2 separate regions of the Homo sapiens genome follow, and region 2 is linked to region 1. Evidence: promoter capture Hi-C in 16 types of primary human blood cells and fetal thymus (Javierre and others, 2016). All regions are on one chromosome and are shown on one strand. Each heading gives the region's core, a stretch centred on a gene start or on the middle of the fragment in contact. The rest is flanking DNA. Distances are from core to core; before and after follow the strand shown.

Region 1 (4,812 bases), core at 1,514-4,013:
TACCTATTCTTTCTATTGGAATTGGTTAGATGCACTACCTGTGATTCAGGTGATCCATCAGCTTTTTAAAGACTTAGCAAAACACAAAAAGTTAGCTATATGGGAGCTTCTAGTAATTTCTGAACTTGGCAAGGACAGGCAGTAACTATAAACTTACTGGGAACACACTGGAGCCGCGAAGGAGTGCAACCTGGCTTTTGAAAGAGCTTTCCCTTTCTGTTGATGGTGAACTTGGTCTGCTTTGAAACTCCAGAGAAGAGTTCCCTGCAGCTGCATCTTTACAGTTCATGCCCTCACTTTCCTTTCTGTTTTTCTCCCTAAGAAGAGAGTAAACACCATCTGTACCACTGCACTCACCAACCCGGAAACCAAAATCTCTCCTTCCCATTAAGAAAATTACCCTCATCCTGAAGAGCCCTCGGCCATTGGTAACAAGCCACAGCCCTTCTGCCAGCTCCAGAGTTTGCCAGCCCTGAATCAATACATGAAACTGTCTGTGGTCATTGGTATCTGTGGGCAGATGTGCAGGGGAGGATGTGCAAGCCGAAGGGGAATGGAGGGAATGGAGAAACTCTGTCCAGTCGGTACAATGTGCAAACCTTACTTCTGTGCTATTACTTTTCAGACTTTGAAAATGTCGTGTGCTGGGCAGTGTGCTTCAGGTAGCTAAGCATAAACACATGTCTATAAATACTGATAACACTATCTTTATTTGTCCATTACTCAACAAAGCCAGATCACCTGAGGACTGTTTGTTCCTCTACAAAATGAGAATCCAGCACCACATGTATTAAAATGTGGGACATTTTCTTCGGAGTATAAACTTTCAAGAGCAGCATCTATGTCTTTTCCAGAACACTCTCAAATCCTTCTGTATCTTTAACACATAACATACAGTTGATTATAAGTGAAAAATTTATAGTCTAGGTTCATTGCAGCAGTTTTTCTGGGTTTGACCATATGGTCTATGCTGTGTCTGAAAGTCTATTCATTACTATGTCCAATTTCCAGAACACAGAAGTACATAAAGTATGTTCAGTAATTTATGTGAACAACCTGCAGCTATTTCTTGACTTGCTAATTCAGGTAAGTGTTTCTTACATGCTAGACACTTGATAAATGTTCAAAGAATGAATATATAGTTTTAAGACTGAATAAACGTAAACTTTTATGCAATGTGCTCACACAAGAAATGCAGTTTGCAAATATGTATATTTCCCAGAATAAAAAACTGTAGTGAACTCCCTCTTCCTCCCCACAATAAGCCCCAAAAGCATGGTATATGAAGTATTGTCAATAAAGATATTAAAATTAGAAATCAACCTTGAATAGAGCTTTCTCCAGAAAATTTTAAAAACTCAAATAATGTTTGATTTCATTTAAGAGAGACTTAGGAAAACCGGCATACAATTGTTCTATCACAGAGAGTCAAATTCAAAATCAGCTGTGAGAAAAGTTAAACTGTCTGAGGAAAATGAATTTCAGAGAAATGAGGCTTATTTTCTCCTCTTGGTTATTTCTGAAAGAACGTTTTGAAGAAATCCAGTGGAACTTTCCTGTTCTCTGAGGGGTTTCAATTGCTCCTAAAAAACATTTGCCTGAGGTTTAAACTCTATTGGGTGTGATTGTCTTTCTCACTGGTCAATTAATTTTGCAAGGAGGGAGAAGTTAGGAAAAGGCAATGCTAAATAGATATGTCTCCAGAAAAAGGCACCTCAGTTTTCTGCTTAGAGATTTTTTTTTTCTCATCTGTCTCCTTCTGTCCCCATCATTCACTTTTCTTTCTTAAACCAATATGTTACACTCAAGAAGTCATACCCAGAATAAAAACCTGCCTGGAAGGGAATCCGTGTTTGAGTAAAACTTCCCTTGTGCAATCAGCTCCCTGTCCCGACATGGTAGTTCATTTACCCAGGCGTCTATCACCCTTGGAGAGCATGTAACTTTCAGCCTGTACTTACCTGTCTGCCGAGAGCGCCGTGAGTGTGAAGACAGACACCCCAACAGAGGTAAGCTGTATAAAGGGGATCAGTTTGCAGCCAATCCTGCCAAATAGCCATCTGTCAGCCAGGTACCTGCTGGCATCCACTGGAGCACACGTTATTAGGAGGAGCAGGTCTCCCAAAGCCAGACTGGAAATGAACAGGTTTGGAACGTTTCGCATGGACTTGACTGTACAGAAGATCTTGATCAAAGTGATGTTGCCAATGAGGCCTATCAGAATGATAACCCCATAAACTGCAGGGATGACATAGAGGATCCCCGGGTGGGACCAGTCATCGTTCACGGGGAGATCCGCACTGTGACTGGAGATGTTGCAGTGCATGAAATGGTCCACCTCCAAGTTCAGAAGGAAACAGTCATTTAGAGCCATCTCTAGATTTTTTTTCCCACCTAAAAGTTCCCTTAGATGCTATTTCTTAACTATTGATTTTGCAACCGAGTGAAGATGAAGATAAGATCTATGCCGGGCTCTTTGCCTTCTTTAATAAAAATACTCTGAGTACATATATACTAACTATGGTATTCAAAACTCTCTGTCACTATTTTGACACTGGTGCTGCTCTGGCTTTCACATGACCAGTGCAATACAACTCTAAATTCAATAAGTTAACAACAACAAAACTTAGCCACAAAAAGGCTTAGAATTAAACCCACTCTGCATCAGTTCTTTCTACCTCCATTCTAGTCTGAGTCTCCCTGGCTGCAGTTTACTAAGAACTTTTGGCCTGCTATTTTCCCACAGCGTCTTTCCTGATATTTAGAATCTGGAGGTTTAAAGTGGGTAGAAAAAAACTGCACTGAGAAATCCTCAAATCCTATAGGCAGGATGCTTTGCACGTCACGGGCTTCACCAGCAAACGGCAGCTCCGCTGAGCTGAGGCTCTGAAGAGGAACCAGTGTTACTTATAGACAGAGAATGCCAGCCCCCTGCTGGACACTTCAATCACTGCCCAGTTGCCTGCTTTCTCCAGATGAGAAGCAACCAGCCGACTGCAGTTCCTACCTAGCTTAACAGATACCTTTGGCTTCTCATGTAAGCACATAGCACCTAGGGTAGGTATTTAATAAATGTTGCTAGCATTCTGCAAAGGCACTGAAAATCTTTCTGATACTATCCCCATGAATCCAGATGGGGATTTACATCCCATTTTCTCATTTTTTCTAATTCATTAGAATGACATGTCAATATTGCTATCAAATGAGGTCTGTCTTTGAATTAAACGCACACTGATGCACAGGGTGTCCATGTGTGAGTTATCCCACTCAGTCTTCCCACTGCCTCTTTGAACAGGGACTGATCCTCAGAAACACATGCACAGACTCACACCTTAAACCTTCAGCAACTGACATCTGGAAAAGCCAGAAGCACAATGCACACATGTTCTTTCCTGTAGATTTGCCAAGCCATTCCTATTCTGTTTACCAGGGAGAAATTAAATTGGGAACCAGCTGTATTCTTAACTCTCAATGATCAATAGTCTTTTCCAGAAAAATGGGTCTTTTCTCATCTGATCTAAAAATTTTATGAATCGGCATTTTGATGCAGCTATTTGCATTTTTAATTGAATGTTTGCCATGTTTTATAGCAAATATCCTCTTTATAGCCCTGTGTGGAAAATAAAGAACTATAAAAGCGTGATAGATACAATACTGAGGAATTGAGTGGGTGGTAAAAGAAGTAAGTTATCGTTGAAGGAGTGCTAGAAAAAGCTTAATTGAGGAAGTGCTATTAGAATCAGGCTTAGACCTTTAGCCAACAACTTCTAAATACATTATTAGAGTGCATCTTTATGACGTATGTGAAGCCAGCTCCTCCAGGTACATGACGTGAAGCCAGTCACTAACAGGTGAAGTCTCATTTTTCAGAACCCATAAGGAATAACAAAACTTGCACTTACCATGCCAGGGCCCACAAAGAAAGCCCCCAACTGTGTTGTTATGGACATTTCCAGTGGCAGGTTCCAACACTGAGGCTGCTGCCATGCTTTCTATGTAAATATGAAAGGCTCAGCGCCCCTCTCTGCCAGCAGGAGGGAGACTGATGCTGCATGGCTAGAGGTGGAAGAGCTTCTCGGCAGAGATCAGTAGCACCAGTAACCAGCCAATAGCCATGAGCCCAGTGGTGTTGATTAGTTGCCAGCAATATAGCTTAATGATACAGTACACAGGCTCTGCTTCAATCCTGGCTCCCTCATTTATAATTATGGCAAGTTACTTAGTGTCTTAAGCTTCAGGTTCCTCATCTGCAGGGTGAGGAGAACTTATGAAGTTAGATGAAATGATTCATGTTAAGATTGCATAGTATTTGGCACATAGTAAGTGCTCAATTAATATTAGCACTTATTATTATTATCATTATTAGATTGAGGGGGAAAGGCTTACTTTGGAAAAGCCCAATGAGTTCAGAAGAGTGATTGACCTCAGATCAATAGGCAAGCACTCATACGAGTGAATTAGCAACTCCTTTATTTACTTGAAAAAAATTTATCAAACATCTACCAGTTGCCAGGCACTGAGCAAGAGGCTGAGAAAAATAGCATGAAGATGTGTACTCTCACAGCTCTTTAGACCCCAACCCCTCTCTGGAGTGAAGCAACTACCTTTTCTCCAGAAAAGACGATATCTTTAAAGGTTAAGTGTTGACAAGGTCTTTTGAATGAAGAAAATCATATGTGCCTAGGATCAAGGCATAAAGGAAAGAGCATGACATTGAGCAGAGGGACATCTATAAATCCAGAGGGTCACCCAGATTGGAAGACAGGGGTGGAAAAAGAACAGCGTGAAATGCAGCTAGAAGCAGGTTTGGGT
Region 2 (4,644 bases), core at 337-2,836, 520 kb before region 1:
AGTCCCAGATCAAGGTGCTGGCATCTGGTGAGGGCCTTCTTGCTGTGTCATCATGTGGTAGAAGGCATCACATGGGTGAGAGAGAGGGAAGGGGACTGAACTCATCCTTTTACCAGGAACCCATTCCCATGATAACTAACCCATTCCAATGATAATGGCATTAATCCATTCATGGGGGCAGAGCCCTTATAACTTAATTGCTTCTTAAAGATTCCACCTCTCAACACTGTTGCACTGAGGATTAAGCTTGCAACACATCAACTTTGGGGAATGCATTCAAACCATAGCAGCTTTCTTTTACTGGTGGGGAAAAAAACAAGTTTAAAAGACTGGAAAAATACATACGTACTTATGGGACTGCTCATTGATTTCCTCATTGTAGATTCCATTCTCACACTACTTGGTGACACAGCAGCGCAGGTTGGAAGCCAGAAATGGGAAATAAACTGCTTCAGGTTAGAGGCAGGACTCTGTCAGGCAGGACTGGGCATAGTGTGTACTCGGCCTCTGAGTAGGGCACCACCCCTCCCTTCCCGTCTGCTGAAGAGACTCACCTGCAACTTGGGACATCCATGAGTATCTCAGACACCCCTCTGCTACTCTGTGGCCCACTGACCCATCCCTTAGTCTCCCCTGTTAGTTTTTAATACACTTAAAACACTGTGAGATTCCAGGCCGGGTACAGTGGCTCATGCCTGTAATCCTAGCACTTTGGGAGGCTGAGGCGTGTGGTTCACAGGGTCAGGAGATCGAGACCATCCTGGCTAACACGGTGAAACCCCGTCTCTACTAAAAATACAAAAAAAAAAAAAAAAGTTAGCCGGGCATGGTGGCGGGCGCCTGTAGTCCCAGCTACTCAGGAGGCTGAGGCAGGAGAATGGCGTGAACCCGGGAGGCGGAGCTTGCAGTGAGCCGAGATCGTGCCACTGCACTCCAGCCTGGGCGACAGAGCAAGACTCCGTCTCAAAAAAACAAAAAACAAAAAACACTGAGAGATTCCATTATTGAGTACTTGATCTGAACTTGACACTGTGTCGAACTCCTCAGTGGAGATGGAAAATAAAAAGATCTAATCCTTGTGCTTGATGAGCCTACACTTAATTTATGAGAGGAGATGCATTTATGAAATAATAGAGGAAGTTAAAGCTGTTTGTAGTAAATAACGGTATTAGATTCCTATGGCTGTTGTAACAAATTACCACAAACACAGTGGCTTAAAACACATATACATTTCTTCTGGAAGTCAGAGATATAAAGTGGGTTGGCAGGGCAGTGTTCCTTCTGGAGGGTGTACGAGAGAATCCATTTCCTTGCTTTTTCCAGCTTCTAGAGGCCACTTGCCCACGGCCATCCTCCATCTTCAAAGCCAGCAGCATAGCATCTTCCAGTCTCTCTGATCTCTGCTTTGTGGTCATATCCCCTTTTCTGACCCTGACCCTCCTGCCTTCCTGTTTTAAGAGCCTTTGTGGTTACAATGGGCCCACCCTGATAATCCAGAATCTTCCCTTCTCAAGAGCCTCAATTTACAGGCTGGGCATGGTGGCTAATTCCTGTAATCCCAGAACTTTGGGAGGCCAAGGCTGGAGGATCATTTGAAGCCAGGAGTTCCAGACCAGCCTGGGCAACATGGCGAAACCCCATCTCTACAAAAAAATACCAAAAAATTAGCCGGGCATGGTGGCATGCACCTGTGGCCCCAGCTACTTGGAAGGCTGAGGTGGGAGGATCACTTGAAGCCAGGAGTCAGAGGCTGTAATGAGCTATGATCATGCCACTGCACCCCAGCCTTGGAGACAGAGTGAGATCCTGTCTCAAAAAAAAAAAAAGATCCTCAACTTAATCACATCTGCAAAGTCCCTTTTGCCACAGATTCATAGGTTTCAGGGACTAGGATGCGGATATCTTTAGGGTAGGGGAGGCATTATTCAGTCTCCTACTATGAGTTACTGAAAATGAATTGATGATGTATAGGTTATTTATTTGGTAGGCTGAGCATAACAATGGCATTAATTATGAGGCAGTAAGGGGAACTGGAGGGGGCCCCTAAAGCATGAGGAATGGGAGGGAGAAGGTATCTTGGGAAAAGTAGAGAAGGAGGTGGTCTGTGTGTAGTATGGTGGTGGGTAGGAGAGTGGAGGTGCCATTGACAATGGCCCCAGCTAGCTGTGGTAGAAGCTACAGGTTCGAATACATGAGGAGGGCATGGCTAGTCTGGGCTCCTGTGTGAGGTAGGACCTGAGAGCCACCCAGAAGAGTTTAGGTTTAGTCTGTAGTGATGGAGGCTGCTGGAGCTAGCAGTGCAACCCAACATTAGGGAAAGTAATGCTGATGTAAAACTGCTTGATACTTTATGTACAATTTGAATATGACTTAGAATCAAAATCAGAATCAGGCTTGAAAACCTAATGAGCAGTAGGAAAGGAATGAATTGGAGAATACTTGTAAAGAATACTAGAGGAGGCCGGGCGTGGTGGCTCATGCCTATAATCCCAGCACTTTGGGAGGCTGAGGTGGGCGGATTGCTTCAGCCCAGGAATTCAAGACCAGCCTGGGCAACATGATGAAACCCCGATGCTACAAAGTGGAAAAAAAAAATGCTAGAGGAAATTGCTGTATGTTGCCTAAGAGTCTGGAAATAGAAATAGCTGCTGGTGAGTAGGCTTTCCCTTTGTCTCCAGGTGAAATATTCAACGATGAGGAACAAAAGGAAAGCTGGGCTTACCAGGGTAGGTCAGGTAGGTCCAGTCAGGAATTTCACTGTTGCTAAGAGAACCTAACTCCTGTAGACTTTGTTGTTTAAGGCACCTGGGATGCTGTAAAGTCTTGAACTCATTACACTTTTATTATGGGCTGCAGAAAACATCAGTAAAGGTTAATTAGTGCCATATTTATCCTTACATGCTGATTTTACATCTCCTAAAGCTTTATCACTTATTGATCCTTTTTTATTTTTCTCATACTATATGGCTCAGTTCCAAGAGAGGACAAATCTGGGGATCAGATGACAGCCAGTATTTAGGCTGAATTAGAGGAAGCAAAGGCAATCCTTTTGCAATGGAAGATGCGTTTTCCTTTCAGATGCAAAAATCTAGAGTATTTTGGAAATGTTGGTGTTAAATCTAAAGCATATTTGAGATTATTTTCTTTAACCACCCCAGTAACAATAAAATAGATATGTTTTGAAACTGTGATGTTCTCCTGTCTCTCAGGCTTTTAGTGGAAGGAATGCAAGGAACAAAGACATTTTTGTTAATTTTTGCTGCTGAATCAGGTTGCTTATAACCCAAGAGGCAGCCAGCCATCATCATCTTGTAGGATCCAGCTTGTAGGATCATCTGATAACTCTGCAAGGCAGCTGGTGTGTCAGGCTTGGGCACCATAGTCTCTGCCTTGCCCTGACCTTCCGCTTCCTGAGTGTTGGGGTTCCACCAGCTGGTGCCTGGCAGCGTTCTTTGCCTGAGTATGTGATGGTGATTCCCAGATGAGATCTCCTAAGCTAGGCCCACACAGAACCTTCCTGTTCCCTCCCTCCATCAGCGACTTGCCTGTCAATTCTCTCCCTGCTTTTCTCCTTTCACTGATGTTCAGGGCAACATTTGGTACTGGAGACCTATTTTCACCTGCTTCCCACCTCTTCTCTAGCATTTTTTGCCTTCTCCACTGGTTCCTACGCTAGCATGTTTTAATCAGAGGATCACAGTGGCATTTATACCTTGGATTTTCTTTCTGTGCTATCATTTCAGGAGAAGGTAGCGTTTATTACTTCTGAAAACAGCAGGGATAATGTGAACTAATACCCTAGTGTAAGGCCTAAATACTACATTTTACTCTTGATGACTTAAACTTGTATTTTCATTAGTAAAATACGATGTGCAAAGTTTAAAAAGCCAACAGTTCTGAAAAGCCTATAATGACAAAGTCATTAATCCTCACTCCCTCTGTACCACTCTTTAGCTTCTTCTAGCTCTTTCTCTGTGTTTGTCTCCATGTTGCTAAATAATCTCATAGTATTCTTTGAGGACTTTTTAGACTTCTCCCGCTTTGTTGAAGGAGTTTTTAATGCTCTTAGGCAGCCCCTATGCCCACTGCATTTTCCTTCTCTCCCCACCTCCCACCCCTACACTTGACTTTTGGAAATATTTTCTGGTCTTCAAGTGTTTGTCAAGTTCATCCCAAGTAAGCAGTAAGGCAGATTTCCTGTTCTTTTTCTTTTCTTTTGTTTACATTTTTGAGACAAGGTCTTGCTCTGTCATCCAGGCTGGAGTGCAGTGGTGTGATCATAGCTCACTGCAACCTCCGCCTCCTAGGCTCTAGCAATCTTTCCACCTCAGCCTCCTGAATAGCTGGGACTGCAGCCTGTGCCACCACACCCAGCTAATTTTTGTATTTTTTGTAGAGACCATATTGTCCAGGCTGGTCTCGAACTTCTGGCTCCAGTGATCTGTCTGCCTTGGTCTCCCAAAGGGTTGGGATTGCAGGCGTGAGCCACTGCACCTGGCCTCCTGTTCTTAGTTGGCTAATTTTACTCTAATCTCAATGCTTCATACCAGAATATTTCTTGAATACCAACCTTGCCAGTAACTGAACAAACTACATGTAAAGACTCTTCTTGGGTATTGGGTATTGGGACCCAACACAGTGAGG

The links. Contacts are between HindIII fragments. The CHiCAGO score rates a contact against its expected background, and 5 or more counts as called.
Region 2: a contact is called between a fragment that was not itself captured here and the fragment with the promoter of GRPR in region 1, in 2 of 17 cell types (total CD4 T cells and activated CD4 T cells). The highest score is 7.5, in total CD4 T cells.

The regions. Positions count from the first base shown.
Region 1 is chrX:16,121,516-16,126,327 of GRCh38, reverse strand. GRPR (gastrin releasing peptide receptor) reads right to left here and starts at 2,763. Exons shown (of 3, transcript NM_005314.3): 1 at 1,962-2,763. The coding sequence starts at 2,374. RefSeq lists an enhancer at 2,768-3,062. The HindIII fragment of the contact is 8,500 bases long and covers 1-3,716 here.
Region 2 is chrX:16,641,322-16,645,965 of GRCh38, reverse strand. The region is part of intron 13 of CTPS2 (CTP synthase 2); the gene reads left to right. Among named protein-coding and RNA genes, the nearest start is that of S100G, 6.5 kb to the left of the region's middle. The HindIII fragment of the contact is 2,676 bases long and covers 249-2,924 here.